Linked DNA regions of Homo sapiens: region 2 is linked to region 1. Evidence: promoter capture Hi-C in 16 types of primary human blood cells and fetal thymus (Javierre and others, 2016). All regions are on one chromosome and are shown on one strand. The core of a region is centred on a gene start or on the middle of the fragment in contact, and the rest is flanking DNA. Distances in the headings are between cores, read along the strand shown.

The links. Contacts are between HindIII fragments. The CHiCAGO score rates a contact against its expected background, and 5 or more counts as called.
Region 2: the fragment with the promoter of COXFA4 here is called in contact with the fragment with the promoter of C7orf25 in region 1 in 1 of 17 cell types (monocytes); the score reaches 5.7 in monocytes.

What each region holds. Positions count from the first base shown.
Region 1 is chr7:42,909,091-42,914,579 of GRCh38, reverse strand. It overlaps C7orf25 (chromosome 7 open reading frame 25), which reads left to right and starts at 2,510. Exons shown (of 2, transcript NM_001099858.2): 1 at 2,510-2,665; 2 at 3,659-5,307. The coding sequence starts at 3,680. The coding sequence ends at 4,945. RefSeq lists enhancers at 708-767, 2,287-2,983, 2,984-3,681 and a silencer at 2,679-2,938. The HindIII fragment of the contact is 2,903 bases long and covers 2,231-5,133 here.
Region 2 is chr7:10,937,765-10,943,253 of GRCh38, reverse strand. COXFA4 (cytochrome c oxidase associated subunit FA4) reads left to right here and starts at 3,101. Exons shown (of 4, transcript NM_002489.4): 1 at 3,101-3,238; 2 at 4,358-4,446; 3 at 5,107-5,164. The coding sequence starts at 3,197. It overlaps LOC107986767 (a long non-coding RNA gene), which reads right to left and starts at 2,998. Exons shown (of 3, transcript XR_001745091.3): 1 at 2,523-2,998. RefSeq lists a silencer at 2,569-2,818 and enhancers at 2,044-2,964, 2,849-3,118. The HindIII fragment of the contact is 7,174 bases long and covers 1,322-5,489 here.

The DNA of each region.
Region 1 (5,489 bases), core at 1,261-3,760:
TCTCCCTACCTCAATTAAATCATGTTGAAGATTTTTCTTATGACTAAGTGTACTACAATTTACATTTCCGGAACAACTTTCCTGGCAGTGATAACCGCTTTTTTTTCTTTTTTTTTTTTTTTTGAGACAGTCTCACTCTGTCACCCAGGCTGGAGTGAGGTGGCACAAATCAGTTCACTGTAGCCTTGACGTGGGGTCAAACGATCCTCCCACCCCAGCCATTGCAGTAGGTGTGAATACAGATGTCAGCCACCATGGCCAGCTAGTTTTTTTACTTTTTGTGGAGACAGGGATCTCACTACATTGTCCAGGCTGGATTTGAACTCCTGTGCTCAAGTGATTCTCCCGCCCTGGACTCACAAAGTGTTGGGATTACAAATAAGCCATGGCGGCGCCCAGCCCACTTGGTTACTTTGTTTTCTGCGTAGCTGTCACCAATCCTTGCCAGATTCCCCCAACAGAAATTTAACACCCTCTGCTTAATATTTTCCTCATCAGTCAGATATCAGGCACTCTGTATCAGTTCTCTTCCCCACACCTCAGAGAAGTTTCTCTTAGAACCCTCTGTCTTCCTGTTCCAATCCAGGCTAGGTGCTTGTTTGAAACTATCTTTATTCTCCTTGCTTTCTCTCTGAATTGGCTGGGTTTAAAAACTCTAAGAAATAAATTATCTCCACATTTTGAAAGCATTACTCCCTTCTAAATTCCAGTGTTGCTGATAGGAAGCCTAATACTATTGCGTATGTGATGCCAAGTCCTTTGTAAGTTTTCCCCTCTGCAGCTCTTGGTTTTTCTCTTATCTGCTGTGTTCTGAAACTTCACAACCATGTTCCTTTGTGTGGGTTTCTTAATAGTCATTGTGGTGAGCACTCAGTGGGCCCTTGCACTGTGAAAAACGTTTCTGTTTGCTAAATTTTCTATTAAGTTTTTGAAAAATTTTCTCTTCATTTTGTTTTTGTTTCTAAACTCCTGTTAATTGGATACTGGATCCTTTTGTTTTTGCTCCATTTTTCATCTATTTCTACTTTCTAAATTTTTCCAACTCATTGATGTTTTGAAATTTGGGATATGATTTTTACTACAGAAGAACCATTTCCTGTGCTCTGCTGTCTCCTTAAAAAAAGAAATCCTCTTGTTTCATAGCTGAAATATCTTTTATTTGAAGATGCTAGTTATAGAATACTTTTTGAGACCATTTTGTTCTGTTTTCCATTTCCTTCAAATAACAAAAACGTTGGGAAATGCTGTGTTCGTGAGGCTCACACTAGGGGATGCTGAATGTTGGTATTGCCGAGCCATTTCTCTAGGGTCTTTTGTCTACTCATTTCTTCAGAGAAAAATAGGGTTATGGGGAGATAGTGGTAGGGAGCGGTAGAGGGGTGCCTGCATTATGGGAGGGGCAGAGAAGGGGGCTGCTAGCATTGCACTATTCAGTAGGAAAACATCATGGCACCTCTCATCCTTTGTTAGGCTTTGTGTCTGGAATCCCTCTGATGCCCTGTCTTTAGCATCTTAAACTAGTCTTCTGCCTGAACAATTTACTGCCCTCCCTTCTACCTTCAAGGCACCTGAAGCTTTCTGGGGTTCTGCTTTGTGAATCAGTGGCTAAATATCCCCTTCTACAAGCAGTTTGCTCAGTTCTCCTGACACCATCTGCAAAGAGGGTGCTTGGGTTCAGGTAACCTCCCTATGGCTCACTTATCTGTAAAGCATACTTAATATCTCTACCTTTTAGGTTGTTTAAAGGAGTGAACAATGTGTAAAACACTTAGAACAATGTCTGTCACGCTGTAAGGACTGAATAAGTTATTGCTCTTGTCCTCCAAAAATGTGTTGGTATAACCGGTCTGCAGTCATCTCTTCTCTTGTTCTTTTTGCCTTTGTTTGTTCCCTTTGTCATTGCTTTACTGTTATTTGGAGAAGGAGCATTGCTTTACTGTTAAGTTTGGAGAAGGAGCAGGATACACAGGATTAATTATAACTGGAAGTCCTCTTTAATATTTTAAATTAGCTTTACTTTCTTACAGCCCTAATCTTTCTGGGTGACTCTGGACACTCTACTACAGTAATATGAATATGGCAGCCCCTCGGAAGCCATGCAATCATTTCTTCTCTTCAGAAGGACAGCACACTTTCTTTGGAGGGCCCAGGACAATGCAGTGGAAAGTGCTTTGGCTTGGAGGCAGAAGTCCCAGAGGCAGTACTTCTCAGCTGTCACCTCTGACAAGCTTCTCCAGCGTTTCTTCTGTTAAAATGAGCCCCCAAAATGCCTACGACCCGGTTGCGATCGAGTGGCCGACGCCCCCAGTGGGAGTGAGGCCCAGCACGCGAGCTCGGTCCCTCTTCCTGGAGCCAGGTGGGTGCGCGCCTTCAGGCTCACCCGGCGGCGCAAGCGGGAGAAGCCAGGTGCCCTCAATAAACATGGCCGCCACGCCAGCGTCAACCCGGCTCGGGAGGCCGCGCTGCCGCTTGGGAATCGCAGGTTTGGCGTCACCCGGCCCGGAACCACGTGATGCAGGAGGTGCCCGAGGCGGCGGGGCTCGCGCGGGTGGAGCCGCCTCGGCGTTCGAGCGGGGTGGGGGCTGCCCGGTTGAGATTTCCCGGCGGGTCCCGGCCTCTGCGTGCACGCGCCTGCGTGCTCGCGCTCGCGGTTCTGGCGCTGCCGGTGAGGAGCCGGGGAGCGAGGCGGGGAGGCTGGGAGCGGGGCGCCTCTTCTGAGGCCAGAGGGGGCTGGGCAGGGCCGGCCCGGCGGGAAGGGGGTCGGCCGCGCGCTATCAGCGCCTGGTCCCTGAGCCGCGGCGCTGGCGGTGGGGGCTTTTCGGCCCCGGCCCCTCCTGGCAGGGCCCGGCTGTGCAGGTGGCCGGGCAGGGCCGAGGGCCCCGCAGCCCACCGAGAAGGCCCCGCCGGCCTCTGGCCCGCCCACCCGGCGACCTGCGCTGGGGCCGCTTGCACGGCCGCCGCGGGTTGCAGCCTTGGAGTTTAGTTTCATCTTCGGATTTTCCTTCAGAGTCGGAGTGGGAGTGGGACGCAAGTTGGTGGTCTTCTTCGGTCTTTTAAAATAGTCTGGGTTGACGTCAAATGCAGAAATGAGGCAGTGTTGATTTTTTTTGGCGTAAGTACCCCAAGCCTCGGGGGAAATCATGAGGCAGCCGGTTGAAGGAGACCAACTCGGGAAGGAGGAAAAGGTTAGGGAGGCTGAAGTGCTCAGTTTAGGACAGACACTTGCTTTGGACAGTTTGCTAACTAGCCAGTCTGTGTGTATTTTTGTTTTCGGCATTTTTGTCGCCTTTATTAAAATTTCTCAGCAGTTAAACAGGCCGCTGATAGACATAAGGGAATTATTTATATAGCAGATTGCCCAACTCTTGCATTGTATCCTAACCTAGGACCATGCTGTGTCCCCATGGCTTTCAAGCTGAAGAAATGAAGGTCTAAAGTGTGTCAGACGTACCTAAAGAAGAGTTCAAAAGTGTAGCTGCCATCCTTTCCTTAGCTATCAGAGGAAGCAGTCACTCCAGAATGAGACATACACAAGCCCGGGTTCATAGACTCACCCTCCATAAGCTGTGTTGCTAGATTGAAGTTTTTAATCACCAGTGAAGAATTGATTGTCATAATTTTAGGAGACTACTGAAGTTTGCCTTGTTTCTTTCCCTAGGAAAGGAATAATGCTGACAGCATGTCTGCACATTCCATGCTCTGTGAACGAATCGCCATAGCCAAGGAACTGATCAAGAGAGCAGAATCACTTTCTAGATCAAGAAAAGGTGGCATAGAAGGTGGTGCAAAGCTGTGCAGCAAATTGAAGGCAGAATTAAAATTCTTGCAGAAAGTAGAAGCTGGGAAAGTAGCTATTAAAGAGTCTCATTTACAGAGCACTAACCTAACACACCTGAGAGCCATTGTGGAATCAGCAGAAAACCTGGAAGAAGTTGTTAGTGTTCTTCATGTCTTTGGTTATACAGATACCTTAGGAGAAAAGCAAACCCTTGTGGTAGATGTAGTTGCAAATGGTGGTCATACTTGGGTGAAAGCCATTGGCCGGAAGGCTGAAGCTCTTCATAACATCTGGCTGGGCAGGGGCCAATATGGTGACAAAAGCATCATTGAGCAGGCTGAAGACTTCCTCCAGGCCAGTCACCAGCAGCCAGTGCAGTATAGCAACCCTCACATCATCTTTGCATTTTACAACAGTGTCTCCAGCCCCATGGCAGAGAAGCTGAAAGAAATGGGCATATCTGTGAGAGGAGACATAGTAGCAGTCAACGCTCTGTTAGATCACCCTGAAGAGCTTCAACCAAGTGAGAGTGAATCAGATGATGAGGGCCCTGAACTTTTGCAGGTGACCAGAGTTGACCGAGAAAATATACTAGCAAGTGTTGCGTTTCCAACAGAAATTAAGGTCGATGTGTGCAAAAGAGTAAATCTGGACATTACTACTTTAATCACATATGTATCTGCCCTCAGCTATGGAGGCTGCCACTTTATTTTCAAAGAGAAAGTGCTCACAGAACAAGCAGAGCAAGAGAGGAAAGAGCAGGTTCTACCTCAGCTGGAGGCCTTTATGAAGGACAAGGAGTTGTTTGCTTGTGAATCTGCTGTCAAGGACTTTCAGTCTATTTTAGATACCTTAGGAGGACCTGGGGAGAGAGAGAGGGCCACTGTGTTAATTAAGCGAATTAATGTGGTACCAGACCAGCCTTCTGAGCGTGCCTTGAGACTAGTGGCCAGTTCAAAAATTAATAGCCGCTCATTAACAATTTTTGGGACGGGAGACACCCTAAAAGCCATCACAATGACTGCTAATAGTGGTTTTGTCAGAGCTGCAAACAACCAGGGTGTTAAATTTAGTGTGTTTATCCATCAGCCCAGAGCACTTACTGAGAGTAAAGAGGCTCTAGCCACCCCCTTACCAAAAGACTACACAACTGACAGTGAACACTAAAGATACCCTTTAAATATTTTTGTGGAAGTAAGTTATTTATACCAAAGGCTGGGTCTTCCCATCTAAACTGGTGGGAAAAAAGGTCTATAGTAAAAGTAAAACTGAGAACTCTTAAACCAGTAGAGTTTCTTTGTCTCTCATCTAAAGTATATAACCTCCCAAAGTAGAAAAAGCACAAGAGAGAAGCTTATCTATCAAACTGTCTGCATTAGTGCAATTAAGAACCGAAATACGTCTATATAAAGCTTTCAGCTGTATTGTAATACTTTGATTCGATAGGGCTACAACTCCCCTACTGCTAACCACATTTCATGGAATATGGCTACATTGCATCTTGCATTAAATATCTGGAGAAAATTCAAGCCTGTTTTTCATTGTATTGCTTTATATGGTTTAGGCTGGGAGGTAGTCGTTGGTAATCAATTTTAGATTCTAAGGTTAACCATTAATGAAAAACTTATTTGCTGTATGTCAGGTGCAGTCTGATAGGTGTTTTTACAAAAAGTACATAATACAGAAGAAATGAGAAAGTGAATTATGGTTA
Region 2 (5,489 bases), core at 1,852-4,351, about 32 Mb after region 1:
TGACATACTCTTTCCACTAACTTCAATGTGCAAAATTTAAACTTTCACAATTTGACATTTTGGTTAATATTTAATGAAATTTATATTTGTAACCTTGCTTTGTTAACATCTCTAAAGGCATCACTTAGGCCAGGTGCGGTGGCTCACACCTGTAATCCCAGCACTTTGGGAGGCCGAGGTGGGCAGATCACGAGGTCCAGAGATCGAGACCATCCTGACTAACACGGTGAAACCCCATCTCTACTAAAAATACAAAAAATTAACCGGGTGTGGTGGCATGTGCCTGTAGTCCCAGCTATTGGGGAGGCTGAGGCAGGAGAATCGCTTGAACCTGGGAGGCAGAGGTTGCAGTGAGCCGAGATCGTGCCACCACACTCCAGGTTGGGCCACAGAGCGAGACTCCATCTCAAAAAAATAAACAAACAAAAATAAATAAATAAAGGCATCACTTAGCTATCTATATTATTGTTGTCTCTAGAAGCTAGGTCAATGACAAAAAAAAGTTAAGTCTCGCGCCACTGCATTCCAGCCTGGGCGACAGAGTGAGACTCCGTCTCAAAAAGAAAAAAAGTTAAGTCACTGGATTTTAGTTTCTTTTTAATAATGGCATTTCTACATACCTACTTATTATCAACTGTTATTATTCAAAATAAAATATTGGAAGAAGAGGTCTCCCTTCTTCTAATTTATTTGCTGAAAGCCTATCTACACTCACTAAGGTTTCTTTGTTCACTTCTAAGTATTTTCCATGTTTTTGTGCTGATCTTTTAACACAGCCATGCTCCTTACCATAGCCTATAAGGTCCATGTCAGAGAATTGGACATAGACTTTACAGACTCCACTGTTTGCTCTCATTTTCCTCTTTTTCTCCTTAGTTATGGATCAACCACACTGATACTTTTTTAAGCACTCTTCTTCTTCTTCTTCTTTTTTTAAATCTCAAAGCCATTTCTCTTACTAATTTAGTGTTCTTCCCACATCTTTACCAGGTTACTTCCTTCCTTTCATTTAGGTTTCAACTCAGAAATCCTCAGACGGACCTTCCCTGTCCTGTCTACTTAAAGTAACCTCCTCTCCTCCACCTCTTCCATGTCATTGTCTGTCTCATTATTCTATTTTATTGGCTTGTCACTGTCTAAAAATTATCTCATTTGTTTATTGTTTGTCTTCCTCAATTAGTATGTAAGCTCCATTAGCAACGCAGAGTAATTTTCTTGTTCACTGCTATAACTCTAGTGGCTAGAACAGTGCCTAGTGGAGAGTAGGTACTTAAGAAAGATTTGCTGAATGAATGAAAAAAGACACCAGTCTTGATAAGCTTCATGACATATCACCTTAACAGTTACCATCTATTTTTTTTTTCCTACCTACTGGCCATACCTCCTCTTCTAAGCATTGCATGTTGGAATTCCTCGGCTCTGTGTCCTCTGTCTAAATTCTCAGTCAACTTTCTCTCCCTAAGTAATCTCATTCAGTCACATGGGTTCATTTCTTATCAGTAAACTGAGTCCTAAATTTATACTTATAGTGTAGTTCTCTTCTGCCCCATAGAGATCCACTTGAATTTTACATAGGCACTTATACATCATTCTCTACGGCTTATTTCAATAACTGGCATCAACAACCACAGAGCTGCTCAAAACTGAACCTCTGAAATTATTCTTAACTTCTCTCTCCTCACTCCTGGAGAGCCAACCACCAAGTCCTGTTGGTGCCACCTTCTAAACATCTCTGGAATCTTTTTTTCTCATCATTACATTCTCTACACTAGTTCAAGCTACCATTATCTGTCACACAGATTATGGACTATTGCAATGGCCCCTTGATAGGTCTTTCCCCTCTCACGCTTATCCCTTCTAATCAATTATTCACAAAGCAATCATTTAAAAACACAACCTTCCCAAGCTCTCAACATAAAACCCATGATGTTTAAGCGGTTATTGGCCCAGCAGATCTGATCCCCACCTTGCTCTCCCTTTTACTTTCCAGCCACACTAGACCTCATACAGCTCCCTCGGGTTTTCAATAGCTTCAGACCTTCACGTGTTATTACCTCCGCCCTGTACACCTGCATCCTCCGTTTTCACCTGGTTAATGTCCGCTCCTCCTTCAGAGCTAGTGTAACTTCCGGTGGAGCCTTCTCCTATGATTTCTAGTCCCAATTATTAATACTTGCTTGATCATTTGATTAATGCTTTAAGCTACGTATGAGATTGGAGAGGGTTCAGAGTGTACATTTTATCCCAATCCCCCCACCCTCCCCCGCAAAGCCTGTCCTATGGAAGTCCTTCGGGTAAAAAAAACAACGAAGAAAACAAAACAAAAGACAAATGAAAATTCGACTGGGGTAGTGGGAAAGATTATCTGTAGCTACACGACCATTGAAAACACATTTTAAAGATGCAATTTGGGACCAGGGACGGGGGATAGTGGCGTGTTGGAAAGGTCTTTGTGGCGACGAACTTTCAACCGAGGGCCAGGATCTGAGGGTTCAGAAATACACTGCCAGGACTATTATCACCTTTAAGTCATTTACTAGTTTTTAACTTCTGCTTGTCTGCGACAGCGTAACACAGGAAGCAGCTGCAGTCTTCTCAAACCGCAGCCGCTGACCTTAGCGGCAAGAGGCCCGACCTGCCCTCCAGGCGCCCGGCGCTCGGCTCCCAGAGGCGCCGCGCAGCTCCCTCAGCGGCAGTCACAGCTGGCCAGCGCGCACCCGGCACGCGCGCCCCCAGGGCCTCTGCGCGCGGACCCGGCTCTCAGGCGCCGCGGGAGAGGCCCCCTACTCACGGAGCGCGCGGCCCGTGCGCCCACGCTCCGACCGCATTCCTCAGTACGTGGCACCCTTGGAAAGTGCCTGTCTGGTCAATCGAAGAGTCCTCGTTTCGACCAAAAAAATTCCCCTCAGAAATATGCATGGCACGGCAATGAAGGCATTTCACTATGAAGTGGAATGATGATGGTCCGACCAGGTCAGGACGAACATATGAGGGGTTAGATCTAAGCAGGCACTATTAAAGACAGTCGCATCCGGGCCCTCCTGCCGCAAGCTGCCCTCCCAGCCAAGGGTCCTTCAGGTAGGAGGTCCTGGGTGACTTTGGAAGTCCGTAGTGTCTCATTGCAGATAATTTTTAGCTTAGGGCCTGGTGGCTAGGTCGGTTCTCTCCTTTCCAGTCGGAGACCTCTGCCGCAAACATGCTCCGCCAGATCATCGGTCAGGCCAAGAAGCATCCGAGCGTAAGTTCGTGACCGCTCTCCTAATGTTTTCCCTTGTCCTTCTTGCGTCGGGGTGCGCCTCTTTCTGTTCCCTGGGAACGTCCTCATTTACAGCCACTTACCGTCCGTCAGACCAGACCCTGCCTCGCCTAGTGTTTGTCATCTTAGTTGTCCCAGGCCTCTGTGACCCTCTACGCCATGCATTGTGGGGTTTTGTCTGACAGGAGGAAGGAGACGGACACTGCTCGGAAAAAAAACCTAGTTTTTTCTAGTTAGTGAATATTGGAACAGTCTGGTGGCCGCTCTCTTTTGCAGGTTGTGCGGTCCAGGAGGGATAGATGTGCGCTGTGTGGGTCAGAGACTAGCATAGGTCAGGTTCCCTATGTGTTATACCATCTCTGGAGGTTCTTGTATTCGCCGCATTGCACCACCAGGCCTTTTGGTAAATAAGAGGGGTCCGTGATCTTGGAATCCTCACTTTGTCTGGACGTCGTTGCTTTTGGGAAAATTTCGAAGTGTGGAAATTGCAGTTAAGTTCTTTGGCATCTCATTTTTCCTCAGCACATCAATGTGCTGTAGAGCTAAAAGTCTATGCAATCTTTAATCTGTCTTAAATCCGGTTCCCTAAATACGCAGCAAGCATTGGTAGCATTACGTTTTCAGAGATAATGCTTAAAGCCAGTATTTGTAATAGATACGTTTACTTATTCAGATTCTATTTTTCATACATCTTTATAGAGGCACCCTTAAATAATTTGCAAAGAATTTGTTTTTCAAGCCCCAGGATAAAGGAAGCCAGAAAATTTAATGGGAATGACATGTAAATATTAGAGAGGTGAAGAAGACTCGATACATTTTCTTGGAAATTTAAAAATGTACCTATAATTTGCTCCACATTAAAAAGTAAGACACTTAAACCAGAGTCATCTTAACATCCTTTCCAAATTCCATTTCTTTCTTTAGAACACAGTTATAAGAAATCTTACCTCAATGTAAGATCTACTTTATTTAAATTTTAAGACAAAACAGTCCAATAACAGTTTGAGACTTGGAAATCAATGTGCAGAAACTACTGTAATCTCTCGTTGGCCAGTGTTTTAAGTATTTGAAGATGGTTATTCTATTTTGTGTTTGGTTTAGTTGATCCCCCTCTTTGTATTTATTGGAACTGGAGCTACTGGAGCAACACTGTATCTCTTGCGTCTGGCATTGTTCAATCCAGATGTTTGGTAAGTACTTAAAAATGTTTAAAACTTTGATAGCTGATCAAGGCAGTTTAGGAGCCACAGTCTCTGTAGGGCGATAACATTAGGGTAGTAGAAAGAATGTTACATTTACAGTCATACAATAAGTTCAGATCTCAAATCTGCTGTTTTCATTTACTTTTTTTGGTTCATGAAATTATCTAATTTCTCTGAGTCTCGTTTTCTCTTTGGTAAAGTAGAACTGCTAATACCAAATCTTGTAATGTTTTGAGGATTGACATAAAAATAATTGTTTTTATAAAATAATCATGGTTCTCGGCACATGTAAATGTTTTTTGCCTTCACTTGCACATTTGCAGTTGAAAAACAATAGACAATCAAAAGATTGATTCATCATTATTCTATGCACTTTTCTGTATATCACTTTATTAATTAAATGGAAAGGTTTTGTGAAAGCCAGATAAAAAGTATCTTGTGATAGGGATTCTGTGTTCTACCTTTTTTCTAATTGATTACATGAGATTGCTTATTATAGATCCTCTACCTGTTTCAACTTCATAATGAAATAACACCATACCTCATCTAATAGAAAATAAGATTGATCTGTTCAAAAATGTATTCTTAGTACAAAACACTAAATAGTGCTTTATTATTATAACAGTCGTAATGTTTTATTTCTTTTAGTTGGGACAGAAATAACCCAGAGCCCTGGAACAAACTGGGTCCCAATGATCAATACAAGGTAAACTACAAAATTGTTTTAAAGTTGTTAGAAATTGTGTTGTAATAAGTTTTGTCATGGGGTGGGTTTTCTTGAAACTGGATATACGAGTAAAATTCCATTATATTGAACTTTAAAGAGCTGTTAGGTAGTTCTGTGAAATGAAAATGGTATATTGCTCTAATAAATATTTTTTGCTAGGTATTTAATTGCTAGTATAAGAAAAGAAGGAAAAATAGTATAGCTATCATTTACCATTTTCTTAGTTCTTAGGTAGTCTAACACAGTGTTCTCAAACTTCATTATACATAGAGCTTGTTGAAACACAGATTCTTCAGCCTTATCC